Regions from separate parts of the Homo sapiens genome. Here regions 1, 2 and 3 are each linked to region 4. Evidence: promoter capture Hi-C in human tissues and cell types (Jung and others, 2019). All regions are on one chromosome and are shown on one strand. The core of a region is centred on a gene start or on the middle of the fragment in contact, and the rest is flanking DNA. Distances in the headings are between cores, read along the strand shown. Region 1 overlaps ZCCHC7 (zinc finger CCHC-type containing 7). Region 2 overlaps PAX5 (paired box 5). Region 3 overlaps PAX5 (paired box 5). Region 4 holds the start of PAX5 (paired box 5).

What was found. Contacts are between HindIII fragments. The study calls those that stand out against the background at their distance.
Region 1: a fragment that was not itself captured here is called in contact with the fragment with the promoter of PAX5 in region 4 in 1 of the 25 tissues and cell types used here (lymphoblastoid cells).
Region 2: a contact is called between a fragment that was not itself captured here and the fragment with the promoter of PAX5 in region 4, in 1 of the 25 tissues and cell types used here (liver).
Region 3: a fragment that was not itself captured here is called in contact with the fragment with the promoter of PAX5 in region 4 in 3 of the 25 tissues and cell types used here (IMR-90 fibroblasts, lymphoblastoid cells and spleen).

What each region holds. Positions count from the first base shown.
Region 1 is chr9:37,176,038-37,178,737 of GRCh38, forward strand. All of the region lies in intron 2 of ZCCHC7 (zinc finger CCHC-type containing 7), which reads left to right. All of the region lies in intron 1 of LOC105376033 (a long non-coding RNA gene), which reads left to right. Among named protein-coding and RNA genes, the nearest start is that of ZCCHC7, 57 kb to the left of the region's middle. The HindIII fragment of the contact is 9,777 bases long and covers 1-2,700 here.
Region 2 is chr9:36,886,859-36,889,575 of GRCh38, forward strand. All of the region lies in intron 7 of PAX5 (paired box 5), which reads right to left. Among named protein-coding and RNA genes, the nearest start is that of MIR4476, 5.3 kb to the right of the region's middle. The HindIII fragment of the contact is 3,977 bases long and covers 1-2,717 here.
Region 3 is chr9:36,864,474-36,867,510 of GRCh38, forward strand. The region is part of intron 8 of PAX5 (paired box 5); the gene reads right to left. Among named protein-coding and RNA genes, the nearest start is that of MIR4540, 1.7 kb to the left of the region's middle. RefSeq lists an enhancer at 314-423. The HindIII fragment of the contact is 4,420 bases long and covers 1-3,037 here.
Region 4 is chr9:37,032,921-37,035,620 of GRCh38, forward strand. PAX5 (paired box 5) reads right to left here and starts at 1,348. Exons shown (of 10, transcript NM_016734.3): 1 at 1,066-1,348. The coding sequence starts at 1,111. RefSeq lists silencers at 1,114-1,234, 1,501-1,680, a promoter at 1,494-1,932 and an enhancer at 2,011-2,060. The HindIII fragment of the contact is 13,727 bases long and covers 1-2,700 here.

The DNA.
Region 1 (2,700 bases), core at 29-2,528, 140 kb after region 4:
CTTAAGCCTCATTTGTTTTTGTTTGTTTGTTTGTTTGTTTGTTTTGTTTTGTTTTTGAGATGGAGTCTTGCTGTCACCCAGGCTGGAGTCCAGTGGCTCGATCTTGGCTCACTGCAAGTGCCGCCTCCTGGGTTCATGCCATTCTCCTGCCTCAGCCTCAAGGAGTAGCTGGGACTACAGGCGCCTGCCACCATGCCTGGCTAATTTTTGTATTTTTAGTAGAGACGGGGTTTCACCGTGTTAGCCAGGATGGTCTCGATCTCCTGACCTCGTGATCCGCCTGCCTCGGCCTCCCAAAGTGCTGGGATTACAGGCGTGAGCCACCGCGCCCAGTCTAGCCTCATTTGTTAAATACGCTTTCATTAAGGTAGCCTAGGAACTCAGCCACCCTATAGATTGTTGCTTCAGTACAGAAATGAGTCCCACATTTAAAAGAACATTTTATCACTGTTTGTGGTGTTTTAATATCCAGACTTTTGTGGTCTTCATGTTGGAATCAATAATATATGTCAATATATTTTGGTATATATTAATATGTAATTATATTTTAATATATGGAAGCATACATCATATATTAAAATATATGCATAACTGAATTAAATATATACATTTAATGTATATATTTTAAAAATTAGTAATGCTTCTAAATGTCAGTGAGTGCCCTCAGCTTCTGACAATGCTTAATCTACCGGTGTCTAAACAGCATTGCAGTGTTCCTGCTGCTTAAATCATATAGGATTCATTTTAGCTAAGGCTAAATTAGGGGAATAACTGAAGATATATCGGAAATGGAAACCCCAAAGAGTAATAGCTATGAATTCTGTAAATGGGAAGACAGACCAGCCTTTACTGTAGCAGTCAATATATAGAGATAAGGTCTTACACTGGTGTTTTTGTTTGTTTGTTTGTTTTTTTAAACTACTGATGCCTCAGTCCTACCCCTGGAAATATGAGTAAAATGGGGCCAGGACAACAGAAAGTTGAGAGCTTCTTTTTGTACTGGCTTTAAAAGCAAGGATCTAGGCCGGGTGTGGTGGCTTACGCCTGTAATCCCAGCACTTTGGGAGGCCAGGGTGGGCAGATCACGAGGTCAGGAGTTTGAGACGAGCCTGGCCAACGCAGTGAAACCCCGTCTCTACTGAAAATACTTAGCTGGGTGTGGTGGCACACACCTGTAGTCCCAGCTACTTGAGAGGCTGAGACAGGAGAATTGCTTGAACCTGGGAGGTGGAGTTTGCAGTGAGCTGAGACCACGCCAGTGCATTCCAGCCTGGGTGACAGAGTGAGACTCAGTCTCAATAAATAAATAAATAAATAAAATTAAAAAATAAAAGCATGGAGCTAGGTCAGAAATAGCTACAGACTGAGAGTAATCACTGTAAGTAGTGACACAAAGACTAATCTTTGTGCAGTGTGGAAAGTACAGCTGGGTTGTTTCTTTGATTCCTCCTGCCCCATTGAGCCATACCTACAGAGAGCAGCTGTGAAAAACTATCACTTTCAACAATGAAGAATAGTAATATGTCATAATGGAGATTATGAAGTTCAGAAAGGGGTAAATGCAGTTTTGGGGAGGGCTGAGACTAAGAGAGAACACAATAAGACAGGCAATTAAGACTGACATGAAAGATCAGTCACATTGATAGGATATACTCTTGATATGATATAATGAGAATGGCAGTTTACCGCTGTGGTTTTCTTTTCCCAAAACCCATAACCACAGCCTAACCATGAGAAAGACATCAAACAAATCCCAATTTGGGACATTCTGTAGAATACCTAACCCAGTATTCCTTAAAAACAATGAAAGTCAGAGATACTGTCACAGCCAAGAGGAGCCTAGGGAGACATGACAACTAAGTGTAATGTGGTATCCTGGATAGAATTCTAGAACAGAAAAAAATTAAAAACTAAAGAAATCATGTATGAGCTTCAGTTAATAAGGTATCAATATTGTTTCATTAATTTTGTCAAATTTACCATACTAATGTAAGATGTCACTATTATAGGGGAAACTGGCTGTGGTGCACATGAGAACTCGTTGTACTATCTTCACAATTTTTCTGTAAACCTAAAACTGTTCTAACCCTAAACCTAGCCAGTAATGGTGCCTTGGTAATTAAAACACCATGCTGATGAGTATATGATTTCTAGCTAGCTTTATGAACCCCATGATAGAATTTGGATATGTCAGTCCAAATTTATCACTCTTAGTGGAAAATCAGGGTAGGTTCACTTCATTGTTAAGAATACAACAGTAACATTATTCGCCTTTGTAACTTAAAACACATCCCAGCGTCACATACCATTTGTACCCCCACCTCCCCTCTCAAACCCATTGCTTCCCCACTGGCCGCCCCCTACCCCCCACCAAAAAAAAAAAAAAAGGAAAAGGAAAGAAAAAAGGAGAAGGTAAAAAGGAAGGAAAGAAGGTAAAAGAGAAAGTAGAAAGAGAGGAAAGGAAGGAAGAATGGAAAGAAGAAAACTCACAATGGTTGGCAAATAAACCTCTATATTTCAAAGGTTATTGTGAGGATAAAACTCTTATAGTTATGATATAAAAGATTTAACGCGGTGTTGGTACATGTTGTTGGAATAATTCACAGTCAACATAATGAGCAGTGATACAAAGTTCAGGTGTTGTAGCAGACGTATTTTGAGTTTACAGATATTAAACAGTGAAAGTAAATTTTGGGTTTC
Region 2 (2,717 bases), core at 43-2,542, 150 kb before region 4:
ACCAGGGAGAATAACCAAGACTTGGCTTTGCTTACTATCAGCAAGGAGTCCAGGCAGAACAGTGAAACTCAACACAAAGGCCACTCCTCCAGAAGAGACACATTTGGTTTGAAATAACTCACTCTTTGCAATCCTGAGAGGAAGGGGAAGAACAGGGATCTGCCCCTGTTGTATACATGAGGAAACTGAGGCTCAGGGATGAGTTTTGACTGGCCCAAAGTCACAGAGTAAGCGGTAGAACAGGGACTTCAATTCAGATCTCATGATTTCTACTTAAATGCTATTATTGTAGGATTATTAAAAATGTTTCCCCTCGAGGGGACTAGCCCTCCCAGATGCTAAAACATTCTATGAAGTCTTTATAATTAATATTGTGATACCAGCACCTGAAGAAAAAACCAATGGAATAGAATGAAAAATTTAAACAAAGGCTCAAAAGATCCAATCCATATTGGATTATGGACCCAATAATCCAATGCATAGATTATATGGAAATCTAGCATACGATGAAGGTAGGATCTCGAATCACTGGGGCAAATATGGACTTTTTATAAATGGTGTTAGGACAACTGGAAAGCCATCTGGGAAAAAAGATAAAATAGATCAACTCTTCCCACCATATATAAGAATAAACTACAAATAGAACTGAGAAATAAATGTAAAAAAATAAAACTCTACAAGTACTAGAAGAAAATACAGGTGAATTCCTCTCTAATCCAGGTGCAGAAAGACTTTCTAACTATGATTTGAAACCAGATGCACACACACTACAAAAATTAACTCAAAAATGAATCAAAGACCTAAATGTAGGAGTTAAAAGTACAAAATTCTTAGAAGGAAATATGGGCATAAATCTCCATGACCCTGGATTCGGCAATAGTTTATTGGATATGACACAAACAAAAAAATAGATACACTGGACTTCATCAAAATTAAAAGCTTTTGTGCTTCAAAGGATACTACCAAGAAAGTGAAAAAATGACCCATAGAATGGGAGAAAATATTTGCAAATCATATGTCTGATAAAGGACTTGTATCTAGAATATATAAAGAACTCTTGCAGCTCAATAATAGACAAATAATCCAATTTTAAAATGAGCAAAGCAACTGAATAGGCATTTGTCTAAAGAAGAATAAATGAAATGGCTAACAAGCACATGAAAAGATGTTCAACATCATTAGCTCTCAGGGAAATGCAAATCCAAACCACAATAAAACACCACTTCATACCCACTGGGAAGGTCACAGTCAAAAAGACATATTGTCACAATCATTGGCAAAGATGGGGAAAATCGGAACCCTCAAACACTGCTGGTAGGAATGTAAAATGGTACAGCTGCTTTGGAAAAGTCTGGCAGTTCTTAGACATCGAGTTACCACGTGACCCAGCAATTCCCACTCCTAGGTGTACACCCCAGAGAAATAAGAACGTATGTCCACATAAAAACTTGTACACAAATGTTGGTGGCAGCATTATTCATGATAGCCAAAAAGTGGAAACAGCTCAGATATCCATCAATTGATGAATGCATAACGAAAATGTAGTATGTCCATACAATGGAATATTTGGCAATAAAACAGAGTGAAATACCAATACATACTACAGTAGCAACATTCATAATGAACTTGAAATGACTATGCTACGTGAAAGAAGCCAGTCACAAAAGACTATGTATTGTGTGAATATATTCATACAAATGTCCAAGATAGGCAAATCTACCGACAAAAGGTAGATTCGTGATTGCCTAGGGCTGGGGCTGGGAAATGCTCAACAGGCAAAGACATGAAGGGAAGATATAAAGTCTCAGGCTGCATCTGGGGAGAGGGCAGGCTGGGCAGAGGCACGCTATGGCTGACGCTGGTGGAAGACCTGGCATCCAGAGGGCAGACCTGACCCCAGGGAGGAGACCTCCAGGCAGCTCTGCAGGCGGCAGGCTTGAGGGGGCATGAAGCCACCCACATCTGCTCTCCCTTTCACACAGGCTCCCCCGTTGCCTCCAGAGCCAAATCTAGGCCCCTGAGCCTTGCAGGGAGGGGTGGAGTTTGGAGTCACACAGGCCTGGCTTCAAATCTTAGCTCCACCACTTACTCGCTGTGTGACCTCTGGCAGGTAATACAACGATCTGAGCATGGGGCTTTCTTTGATAATTGGAAAAAGAGGGTATTTATTGGGAGTGTAACAATGGTACTCTCTGTAACAGGATTAAAACATGTCTGCAAATTCTTTGTTACTCTTCTCATGGAGAAGTGAGGTCTATGATCCTTTACCCTGAACCTGGGCCCCCTTGGTGACTGGTCAACCCACAGAGCTCCAGCCTCCTTGGAGTTCCCACAAGCCAGGCCCTGGCCAGGCACTTCCATGTCTTAACCTCATTCAATACAAGAACCCCATAAGGTTGCGGTTATAATCCCCATTTTACAAATGAGGAAATGAAGGCTCCCAAGCAGTTGATGTACCCAAGGTTGCACGGCTGATAATAATAACAATAACAGCTAATATTTTTGTAGAATTTACTGTATGCCAGACAAGGCTCTACACTAAGCAGTGTTCTAAACAATATTCACTCTGCTTTGTAAATATAGATTCATTTCATCCTCAAAAACTCTGTAAGGTGAACCCTATTGTTATCCCCATTTTACAGATGTGGAAACTAAAACACAGCGAGATTAGGCACCTGCCCAAGTTCCCACAGCTAGTCACAAATGGACCCTTATCC
Region 3 (3,037 bases), core at 261-2,760, 170 kb before region 4:
AGGTGGGAAAAGGTTGTCCAGAGTCCTCATGGGGCCACTGTCAGAACCCACCAGCTGTGAGGGTCCCCGTGCCCCAGCCGGACCCTGAGTCAGGGGACCCCAACTCCACCCTCACCTGCCCCCATCGGCCCAGGCCAGCTAAGGCTGGTGGGCCTGAGCGTGGGCCAGCCTCCCCCCTCAGCCCACCGGCCTGCCTGCCTCCTCCGGCCTGGCCAGCATGGTGGCAGGCCCTGCCTGCTCCCCTGGGAGCCTGCCGCCAGGGCTGATGGCGCTGACGGAGGGAGGGAGGCCGCCAAGCTGTCAGTCTAGAGGTGCCCCTCGGAGCCCCTCCTGGCTGGAGTGAGGAGGGTGGGCCGGCGCCGGAGCCGGGCTGTCAGGGCCTTCACAGAGACGAGGCCAGAGAGGCGCTGCCTGACAGCTCGCCCACCGAATTAGGACCATTTGCATGCTAATTTCCAGCACTCTAACGGGCTGGCAGGCGGGCTGGGGTGTGGAGAGTGTGCAGAGAGAGGCACCGCGGCCTTCCCGCCCGCGAAGGAACAATGCTTGACTGATCTAGCTGCGTTAACGAGCAAATTATGGTAATTTTGTTATTACAAATGCATAGAAATTTCCAAAGCAGGCAGCCATTCAGGGCAGCTCCCTGCTCCTCCCCACTCCTAAATACAGAGCCCCCTATTTGGAAACACAGGCCAGGCACCCACTTCAGAGACCAAGATTTCCAGGTGCTTCCCTCAGTTCTCCCAGGGAGGCCCAGGGTGAGCCCGGCCAGAGCATCCATCGAGTCAGCAACCCTCAGCTTCTGAGCTCCCCACACCTTGCCCTCTTGTCCCCCAGTAGTCTCTGCCTAGCCCCTGGGCCTAGCAATCCTGCAGAACCTCCACATGCAAGCTGGTTTCTTTCCATCTGAGCAGGTAGCATGGGCGATTCTCCTAGGTCTTGAGAAATTCATTCAGTCATTTCTGTGCCCATTCTTTGAACTAGGCCCAGCACCCAGGAGGGACTCAGGGATTGTCTGATGAATGAATAAGTGAGTCAAGGAAGAAGGGAGGAAGGGAAGAGAGGAGGGAAGGCAGCGGGAGAGGCTGGGGAGAGAGGGAGAGAAGGAAGAAATGGAGGAAGACCAGAACATATTCCGCAAATGAAGATAATCAGGAGACCCCACACGGCCAGCTCACTGGTGGTATAATTAATCCAAGACTTCACTAGCGGAGTTTATTTGCCAACTAGTAACCCCTCCCAGTATTTATAATTGTCCACTGTCAAAATCACAATTTGCCCCAGTTTTTCTGGTAGTCTTCTTTTGATTAAAAGTATGTTTTTGGAAGCCTGCTCTGGTATGCATCCAGACAGGAGCTGTTTCCAAAAAAGTGAGCTCCCACCTCCTAGCAGTGAAGCGTGGGTCGCTCCAGAGCAGGGCTGGGCACAAAGGACGGCTCAGTGGTGCCACGCTGTGAAAAGCAAGTCTGCCCATCCTCGGGCAGGTGGGGTGGATCTGCATCCACTCCTGCCCCACCGGGAACCACTGGCAGTCCTCCTGTTTTATGACAGGGATTTCAGGTTGGGGCTGATGTTATTGAAAGGTCAGGAAGGTGCCTCAAATCCATTTTGGAAGTCAGTGGGGAATAAATCATCAATTATGGAGGAAACCAGCGGCTAGGAAGGTCTGCTCCTGGTGGCTGAAGAAGCGCGGGCGGGCCGGGCCTCACCAGGGAGCGTTCGAGGCAGAGGCCTAAATAGAAGCCAAGACTTCAGAACCTCAGTTGGGGTCGTGGTCAGATTTTTCTATCTGTCTGACTTTCTAACTGGGTCACAGCTTCCAGAGGGAAACTGAACCCAGGAACAGAAAACAATCATTTCTTTGTGTCTGGCTACCTGACTCTGGGTAGGGGAGCTGTGCCCCGGCGTACCTGCAGGTCTCAGACCAACCTCGGCCAGACCTGGGGAGCCCACCGTTGCCTGGATCCACTGAGGCACAGAAGCCTGAGACTTAAGAGAAGATGTTTTTGTAGCTGGCCAGGTCCCAGGGCCTGGGAGAGGATCTGCATTCAGGAAGAGCACAACAAAAGTTGGGGTGAAGGTGGGGGTCTCGATTTGTGTTGCTGTAGAAGCCAGGGCATCCAGGAACCGTCCTTTTTATACCAGTTCTGCACAAGGACAGGAGACAAAATAGCTTCTTTTTTATTGCTTCGGTGAGGAACTGAGGGGGGTGGGGACAATAGGGCAGAAAGAGGGCCACCTGGCTCCCCCTCTGACTTGCCATATGACTTTGAACAAGTCCTTTCCTCATCCTCATCTGCACAGCCCTGGGTTGATTTCTAAGGTTGAGTCCAGCCCTGTCCATCAGTGATGGACGGAAAAGCAGCTACAGAACACACAACGGCCTCTCCGTTGAACACACAACACGCTCCACACAGGCACAGCCCAATCTACACAGGGCTAACAGCCTTCAAAGCTTCTCCTGCAGAGCAGATTTCTCCAAAGCCAAAGGCAAGGCCCTCGGCTAGGGCCTCTGTTGAATCAATGTCTTTGCCGCTGCCCCCAGTGGCCAGCTCTACAGCCTACAAAATGTCCTGGATGGGGTGGTGGGGGGGGGGCCTTGGTTGGTCTCCTGCTTCCCAAGGCTAGATTCCAATTTCTTTGCATTTGTTTTTCCAAATGTGTCTGGCTCGTTCCTGGGGAGTTCTTCTCTACCCAGGAACCCCACACCCGCAGTGCCCATGGAAAAGCTATTCATTCACAAAGGTCCAGTGCAAAGTTGTAGGGGCTATGGGAAACTGCTTCAACCCAAGACTCTTCGGTATACACCTGGTGTCCCCGCTTAGACCTGCTCGTGCCACACCCTTCTTTTGCATCACACAATGAAAGCAATTTCTGGGCTGTAACACAGTGTTTCTAAGAGTCACACTCCAAATTGGCAAAATCCTTCCCTTGTCATCTAGACTGAACCACTTGCTAGCAAACCATTTAAGCCTCAGTTTTCACCTCTGTAAAAGGGGCTACCGTGAGGCTCCACTGCAATTATACATGAAAGGGG
Region 4 (2,700 bases), core at 98-2,597:
AGACTATGCACATGCATCCACCCACTGTGCTCTCCTCCACTGGTGCGGCACCCACAGGATAAAACCTGAGGACACAGTGTGTGTGTGTCTGTGTGTACACACAAATACACACGCCAGTGTCAGAGGCTTGTCTAGGTGAAAGTGAATGTAGGCTGGGGGTCCCTAGAAATGTCACAACTAACCCTACAGGTGTCCGCTGTCATCTGCAAGGTTGTGCCTGCCACAGGAGACCTGTTTGTACAAATGGTAGCCTGAACAGTGCTCACTGCACACCAAGAGGCTGCATGCCCTGAATTCACACCTTCATTCCTGGTCCTATCTCCCAATAGAATGGACACTGGGCCTTACAATGCACATGCTAAACACCACGGATCTCCATAGGCCCCAGACCCACGTCTAGGAGTTTGCCTAGAGACACAATGTGAACATTGGCGTGTATGCATCGGACAGCCGTTGACATCCAAAAATGGAAAGGTCAGTGTAGCCACTTCTTTCTCACATCCAAAAATCACTTGGGATATAACAGGTGAATGCAGACCCTTTAAATAGTGGATGTACACTCAGATATTTCCGAATTACATAAATAACACTCATAGTAGACACACATTTTGGATACCCAAAAGAATATACACAAGTACTAACTTATAAACACACACGAATACCCCACGAGTATAAAGATACACACACACACACACACACACACACACAGGCAAACAACTTTTGGACACAAACTCATATATTTTTACATCTTTTAAAAATACATATACTGTAATGAACACACTGAGTCCCTTATATAAACACACAGGCCCTAACTTGCAGACCCCCGGAAGGACGCCAGCGTGAACATTCAGAAACAGAGAAAAACACAGACAAACTCACAGATATTTGGACTGATGCAGAAGTGTGTGAACAGATAGGTGAAAAAACATAACAAACACGCCGCAGTTAGACAGTCTCTACGAAAATGCGGCGCGCCCCCTCCTCCTCCAGGGTCACCCTGCGTGGGGACCAAGGCCTGGCCGTGTCCCGGAGTTTGCACATCTGGAGCCCGTATCGCGGTCCTACCTGTCCTGCTGGTCCGAGGAGTCGGATAATTTTTCTCTAAATCCATTTTGATTTTTCAGGACTTGATGGAATGGACAGGGAAAAGTTTCCACTTTTTTGTGCCTTTTTTTTTCTTTTTTTTTTTTTTTTTTTTTTTTTTTTGGTGCCAGGGGCCGCTCACAGGTCGGAATAATTCAAGCCTTCCGCTCCCCCGCCGAGCTGGGGTAGCTGATCACTGAGCTGAAACTAAACGTTTTAGGTGGAAAAAAAGCGTCCGAAGGCACCGTGAAATGATTAAGGAACTAAAGAGCTTCTCGCCATGTGAGATCATGTCCTGTTCTCGCCAACATCACAAGATGTCCCCAGACACGCCGCGCCCCCAGCGCGCCGCCCCACACTGCCGGCCCGGAGCGAGGAAAGGGTAGGCGCTGCGCGGCCGGGCCTGCTCAGCGCGCCAGACGTGGCGGACCCGGCCCGGCCGGAGTAGAGCGGGAAGCCGGGAGAGCAGCAGTGCTGCTGCCGCGCCGCCCCAGACTTTTATAGGGGTTGGGGGGAGGGAAGGAAGGCTTCAGCCTGCGCCGGGCGCTAGCCAGCGCACCTACGGGAAGGGGCAGACCGAAGCGGAGCCCGGGAGCCCGGGTCTTCCAGCCGCACCTTCTATTAAGACATGCGCTTGGGGGTCGCGGCCCTCTGCGCTGTGCGCGGGGCCTGTGACATCTCCATGTGCAAACCCCGCTGCTTAGACGAGCGCAGGCCGGGTTTTTGTTTTTGAAGAAATTAACTGCTCGGCCAAGCAGGTGCTTTTGAAAGGGGTTGCAAAGGCTGGCAGTGTTGCCAGGCACCGAGGCGACGTTCCGGTTTACTCCGATTCACCCCTAGGGCGGCGCCCGACCCCAGGGTTCCCAGCCATCCAACCCCCACCCCAATTTGTTGGGGTCCTGACTATTGCTGGGCCCCTGACCCTAGGGCAGCGCCAGATCCCTAAAGCCCCCAGGTCCCATCCAGTCTTCTAGTCCCAGAACCCCTCCCCACATCAAGTTCCATTCTGGCCCAGAGCATGGAGGTTAAGCTGTGAAATACTGGAGATGAAATCCGGGCTTCCGCTTTGGAGCACCCGGGCAGAGCAGAACATCTCAGTAGTTTCTGGAGATTGGCGGGAGTTCCAGACACCTTACCCCGGCCCATAAGTGGAATCGCATTGCCCTCGAGCCCTGAGACGTTGTGGAGTCCCAGAGCCCCAGGACTTGATTCCAGAGAGGAAATCAGATCCACAGAGACCGAGCAGAGGTGTGGCATGTCCAGCCCTCTCTCTTCGGGCCAGACTCAAGCCTCCCCTCCCTGTTCCCCTCCCCAGCCTTGAGTTAGTTCAGCTGCTGGGCCTAGCCACTGAAAGCCTGTGGGGCCCTGCAGCGGGGTGGTCGCAGGGGAAAGGTTCTCCAGGGCGGGGGAGCGCTCCGTAGGAGGACTCCTGGCCCGCCGGACAATGGCAGTTTTGGAGAGTGAATCGTCCTCAGCAAGAGTGTTGTTTGTTTTTTGGAGGGGGTGGTCACGAGGCTGGGTCGCAACCTAGGGGGAAGAGCCTAGAGCTCGAGGAAAGGGGGGCCCCCGGCGGCAACTGGACATCACATATCCACTGAGCAGATTTCGCCACAATCG